Regions from separate parts of the Homo sapiens genome. Here region 1 is linked to region 2. Evidence: promoter capture Hi-C in 16 types of primary human blood cells and fetal thymus (Javierre and others, 2016). All regions are on one chromosome and are shown on one strand. Each heading gives the region's core, a stretch centred on a gene start or on the middle of the fragment in contact. The rest is flanking DNA. Distances are from core to core; before and after follow the strand shown. Region 1 overlaps PRXL2A (peroxiredoxin like 2A). Region 2 holds the start of SH2D4B (SH2 domain containing 4B).

What was found. Contacts are between HindIII fragments. The CHiCAGO score rates a contact against its expected background, and 5 or more counts as called.
Region 1: a contact is called between a fragment that was not itself captured here and the fragment with the promoter of SH2D4B in region 2, in 14 of 17 cell types (activated CD4 T cells, non-activated CD4 T cells, monocytes and 11 more). The highest score is 10.4, in activated CD4 T cells.

Annotation. Positions count from the first base shown.
Region 1 is chr10:80,422,251-80,425,495 of GRCh38, reverse strand. It overlaps PRXL2A (peroxiredoxin like 2A), which reads right to left. Exons shown (of 6, transcript NM_032333.5): 3 at 2,988-3,079. Among named protein-coding and RNA genes, the nearest start is that of PRXL2A, 15 kb to the right of the region's middle. The HindIII fragment of the contact is 2,961 bases long and covers 322-3,245 here.
Region 2 is chr10:80,536,400-80,539,410 of GRCh38, reverse strand. It overlaps SH2D4B (SH2 domain containing 4B), which reads right to left and starts at 1,509. Exons shown (of 8, transcript NM_001388272.1): 1 at 896-1,509. The coding sequence starts at 1,079. The HindIII fragment of the contact is 17,935 bases long and covers 1-3,011 here.

The DNA.
Region 1 (3,245 bases), core at 553-3,052, 110 kb after region 2:
GTAAAGCCCTGCTTCTCTGTGCATATCCTATCTTCCCTGTTTGGTGACATTTTCTGTACTGAGTCTGCATGTTACCACTAAGTTGAGTGTTGTCTCTTACATTCCCAAATGTTTCTAATAGTTAGAAACTATGTCTTCCATTTCTTGGAACCCTCAGTGCCTAGAACATGGCTGGGTATAAAACAGGTGCTAAATACCAGGTGGAAAGATTTGAAGGGGGACAATGGGGAGAATGCAGCTGAGCTGAGATGCAGATACCCTTGACTCTCAGGAACTGTGTGCTAGATGAATGAGGGAAACTGCATGAGTCATGGTAAAGCTTCAACATTAAGAACTCAATCCTTTTTTCACATTTGGTGTCAGAATTAAAGAATGAGCAAAAATCCTTTTAAATGCAGTCTACTCATCTCCAATACAAATATGCTGTTGTATGGTTGCAACTACATTTAATTTTTCATTTATTTTCTAGAGTAAGAAAAAAAACAACTAATGAGGCAGAATTGATTACAATACATTTATCAAGAGTTTTACTGACTGGCAAATTTTGCCCTAGAGCAGAGGACTACAGTGTTTGATATAATCAAAAACCACCTTTTTGTGATATGAAAGGTCTTTTATTTTTGAGATGGAGTCTTGCTCTGTCGCCCACGCTACTCGCCCATGCTGGAGTGTAGTGGCACAATCTCAGCTCAATGCAACCTACACCTCCTGGGTTCAAGTGATTCTCACGCCTCAGCCTCCTAAGTAACTGGGATTACAGGGGCGCACCACCACACCTGGCTAATTTTTTGTATTTTTAGCAGAGATGGGCCATGTTGGCCAGGCTGGTCTTGAACTCCTGACCTCAAGTGATCCACCTGCCTCGGCCTCCCAAAGTGCTGGGAGTACAGGTGTGAGCCACTGCACCTGGCCTTTTTTTTTTTTGAGTCTTGCCCTGTTGCCCAACTACAGTGGCACAATCATAGCTCATTGTAGCCCTGAACTCCTGGGCTCAAGCAATCTTCCTCCCTCGGCCTCCTGAAAAGCTGGGACTACAAGTGCACACCAACATGCCTGGCTAATTTTTTTTTTTTTTTTTTTTTTTTTTTTTGTAGAGACAGGGTCTCGCTATGTTGCCTAGGGTGGTCTCAAATTCCTGGGCTCAAGTGATCTTCTCACCTCAGCCTCCCAAAGTGCTGGGATTATAGGCATGAGCCACTGCACCTGGCTGAGATGAAAGGTCTTACTCACTTTTCCTGGCTCTTTACTCCTGGTGTGGCACTATACAAAGCCATGACGTGGAAACTGAGTCACATACCTCCTAGTTGGGCCACTCAAAATAACTCAGATTGCCATCCACCCATCTTTTTGGAAACGTAAGTTTCCACTAAATGTTCTATGTGGGCACAGACCAGTACAGAGGGAAACAGGTTATAATTAGGGAGAGCTGTTGCTCTTGGAACCTTCTGGATTTTAATGGCCCCGAGAAATCAAGTCAAAACAGGCTTCCATGCTGTTGCTGACTTGCCAGCCATTGCTGACCTAAAAATAGAGGAAGGGGCCATAAACCAATATACATAGGTGGCCTCTAACAGCTGGAAAAGGCAAAAGAAATGGATTCTCCCCTATAGTCTTCAGAAGGAATGCAACCAGATTCCGCTTTGGAATTCTGACCTCTAGAACTACAAGATAAATCTGTGCTGGTTAAAGCCATTGAGTTTGAGGTAATTTGTTACAGCAACAGAAAATTAATACATCTCCCCGATCCGGGTGGCTTTGTTACAACCTCTGTAACTGTTTCCTCCTCTGTAATGAGAATAATAAAATGAGAGTAAAACAAGCTGTATTTCCAAGGGCTATGGTGAGGACCCACTGAGATAGCAGGCACACAGTGCCCTGGGGGTAGGGTACTGCAGGCATCACATGCATCCAGCAGTGCAAGTGGATTCTTCACCAGCCCAGCCACACAAGCATGGAGAGATCAGCAAGGCTGAAAGGTGGTGTCTCAGGGTCAGGGAGGGGAACCAGGAGAATGAGGATGACAATTTGGACAGGGCCACAGCCACTGCTTGAGATGCAAAGTTGTCTCAAGAGCAGGAATACTGTCATTCCCAGTTTTCTCCCAGGCAGGGCAGTAATTTCAGAATCTGGGTCTTCTGCCACTGACTGGCTGTGTGACCACAAACAGACCACTAACCACTCTGGTCCTCAGTTTGCCTACCTATAAAGGGACAAGGCTAGATCCAAGTAGTGGCAATGTTCCTTCTCACACTAGCATTTTGTGTTTCAACAATCACAGTTCCTTCCTTCCACTGATAAGCTCCATCACCTACAAATAGATGATGTCTTCCCTTCGAGGGGCCAACCTGGAGACCACCCAGTCAGTGAGCTCCAACTTTCAACAAACTCTCATGCCAAATGCACTACTGGCATGACTGAAATCCCACTGAGCTACAGATTCAATGCTGAGAGCACACAGCAAGGAGGCAGAGCTAACATGTGAGAATGTGGCTCTCAGCTGTCCACGATGGACTCTAAGAGCTCCCCAAGGAAAGAGAGACAGGCAGGTCTGCTCTAATAGGTAACCTTGAAGTGTTTCCTCCGACACTGCAGCTTCATCACAGGGAGGGACTGACCACACCCGAATCAGAAGCAATCCAGGCACATCATATATCTGTGCTGAGCATCAGAAGCATGGAATTGGACCTGGTCACTGCCCCTGATTAAATTGGAATATGGTCCAGGACTCAGAAGGTACAGCACAGGGTGAAAGGCCTGGGAGTACTAAGGGAAACTGAGATGTGTTGCTAACCCCAGTAGGAGAGGGTGAGTTGTTTAAAAAAAAAAAAAAAAGAGCACAAATCAAAGAAATACCTAGAGCAAATAACAGAACAGAACATGTGGGTAAAAGGCTAAAGCTGGCTTACCGACCCTTGGTTCTGGCCGGAAAACAATGGCCCCTACTTGCCAGGATCCCTTTCTCTGAATAGATCCTCATCTGCACTCACCTCTCGACAGAGGAAACAGCCTGGCCTCCGCACGGCCATAATCACAGCTCCATTTTTTTCCCATAGCTCCTTTGCTTTGAAAGTCCTTGGTTCTAAGAGAGGAAAAAAAGAAATTCGATATCTCCTCCCAGCCCAGCCCCAATCACTAAGCAGCTCATGAACCACACTAAGTCCAGCCAAGGTCAGAGACCCGGCCTAGTAGAGGACCTGGACAGGCATTTCACACGTGGGAAAAGACACACAGGAAACACAGACAGA
Region 2 (3,011 bases), core at 260-2,759:
TCACCAAGGGAGCTGTGTGCTCAGCCCTGAAACAGGACTTTGTTCTGGATTGAAAACTTCAAAGGGTGAAGGCACATAAGCCTTGCAAACTGTAAAGTGCATGCAGCATCCACAGAAACTACAATCCCTGGCAGGATTGAGTCCTGTGCCAAGCCAAGCCTCAGCAGCCTGCCAGTTTCTGGCCCAGGGGTCCTGGATGATTTCCTTCACCCACAGGTGTACCAGTCCATAGGATTGACTGGCACATGACTTTGCATACAAAACACCTGAAATGTAGGCTAGGCCCTTGCTTCTCATCTGCAGTTGCTACGACCATTTGGGGATGGTCATTCATTGTGTGGGACGTTCCCTGATGCCCTCTCTCCGGATGCCCAGTGGGGCTCCAGAGACAACCCACAGCATCCTCCTGCCGGAGGATCTGGAGGGAGAGGCACAGTCCACAGAAGGGGCCCTAGCCAAGAACTGGTGTGCCACGCATGCCAAGGAGAAAGGAACTGCATATCTACACCACACTCTGGCCCAGAACCAATGGCAAGGGTCACAAATATGCCGTCGTTCACCCTACCATTGCCAACCACGTCGGAGCACAATCTGAAGTCTCAATGGTGTCTTCCCAGAACTCGGGCCTTCCACAACAAGACAAAGCAAGTCCCAACTCCCCGACTCCAATAAGGGCCGCTGGACAGCCTCTGCAGCAGCCTCGAAGCCCTAAGGTCCTGGCCAAAAGGCAAAAGCACAGGCTCATGGGACCTGATGCCCACAAGACAAGGGTTTCAAGCCCCCAGCCCTCATCACCCCAGTGCCCATCTTGAAGAAGGGCACAGCCTGGCCCTGCTAATTTTTCTACCTCCTGGGGGACTGGTGGCCTACCTCTCTGTGACTCCCAGCCACGTACCTCGCTTGGTCTTTGGAGGCCTGAGACCCTCGTCCTGGGCCAGGGCCTCCCAAGTCTCCCGCTCCTTCCAGCGCCTCAGCTGCTCCTCCCGCATTTTGTAGAAGAGGATGTGCTTCTGCACATCGCTGAGCTCGGCAAGGAGCTCGGGGTCGATGTACATGTCGTGCAGGATCTGCTGCAGCATGATGCCACCTGGGATGCACGCACCAGAAGGGCAGCCAGCAGGGGAAGCAGGGCCAGGCAGAACGCCCGAGGGGCTGCTCTGCACTACGGACTGCTCAATCCGGGGCCACTCTCGGTGCCCCTTCTCTGTGCAGCATTGTCAGTTGGCCTCAGCTTGCAGCCAGCGACGAACTCATCTCCTCTACCCAGGACAGCAAAAGAGGCCAGGCAACAGGACCCAAAGGGGCAGGTGGGACTCTGCAAGGGGGAGCAACCACCAGGAGCAATCTAGTCCTTCTCCTGGGTCACCAAGCACGGCATCCCAGGAGAGCCCATGTCTTGGCATCACCTGGGGTTCTGAGACAATGGGAAGGGCCCAAGCCTCCAGCTCAGCCAGGAAATGCCCAGTCCCAGCCCTGCCTGGGCTGGTAGGTGTCGAGTGATCTGTTAGTGGAAGGTAACAATGACACCAGCTATATCAATGACACTGCCCCGGCCAGCTGGGAACTGATCTCTCCTCTGCAGATAAGAGGAGGAGAAGGAGGCAGACTTGCCTACTAAATTCCATGTCTTTTCAGCCAATTTCAAACACAGACCAGAGGAGCCTGCCAGAAGCTGCTGGGCCCCTCAGCCCTCTCAGCCCCTCTCTCTGCGGGTTCCTTCGCTGCCAACTTTCTTCCTTTCCAGAACATTTGGCATTCTGAGATGATGCGTTTAAAACTCTGCCTTGGGGGAGGAAAGATTTTTCCTCCTATCTGTGTTACAGCCAAGAAAGAAAACAAAATGGAATCAGTAGAGACAACTGGAGGGGATTTTATCTTGGAATTCCAGGACAGAAAGGAAGCAGACATCCTTTCCCTTTGGCCTATATATAATGAGATCCTGCAGCCATGCGTGGCTGACAGATAAACCCTCCAGGGGCCAGTTTTAATGGTCGTTGTTAATCTTGTTTGTTGCAGATGCCTGGAGTTGACCAAAAAGAAAGAAGATGAAACTGGCTCTTCTCTGTGCCCTGATCAGAAGCACACTGGAATGGCGGGATGTTGCCTTCTGCTGGGAGGGAAGCCACCCTCTCTTTGGTGTGTGAAGGTGGGTAGAAGCTGCCGTTGCTGAGATCTTTAGGGTGAAAGCTCACCCTAAATATGTGCTCAGAGCAAATCACAGATGCCTTCTTATTGGGACAAGGATATTGAAGCTCAGAGAAAGTAAGTGGCTTGCCTATGGCTTCCTAATGGACAAGTCACTGTATTGGGACTCCCCCGTTTTGAAATTTGACATCCACTAGCAACTATGAATCTGTTGATGGTTTGAAAACATAACCCAACCAAGGGAAAACAAACGAACCAACAGGATTTGGCACTGTGGCTTGGTTGGATTGGTGACCTTCCTGTCCCCTTCCTTGCCCATGAGGGTGGAAGGTGGATCAGGTACCCAAGAGTGATGGAAGAGGGGTGGAGAGTTGGCATTCTTCCCCCTCTGCAAGGTTAACACAACAGGAAGATGGACTAAGCAGATTCAGATGAGCTGTAAGCCCATAGGGTCAAAGCTCCTGCTCAGCTAGGCAATGTCCAGGTCACAGGAGTGGAGTCAGACGCCCCACCCCTCCCCACCCAGGTCCAGCTAGCTGGTCCCAGTGTGCCCAGACCTTCCTAGAGCCGCCACAGGACTCGCCTGTCCGCTGCAGAGCTGTGGCCCTGGACTCCCATCCACCCACCTCAGGGCTTGCACCGACTCCCCCACCGGGAGTCCTGGCTCCCCTCAGTTTCTGAGACCGGGGGTCTTCCCTAGCCTCTGCCCAGCTATTCTCTTTCTCCCCCTCGCCGTGGCTGGTGGGAGACCCCCGAGTCCAAAGAGGAGACAAGGGGAGGAAGGCCCCCAGGGTCTGGGCTCCTGCGGGCAGCTTCTTTTTGTCTTTCCCGGGCCGCCAGATACCTACGACCACAAGAGGGCACGG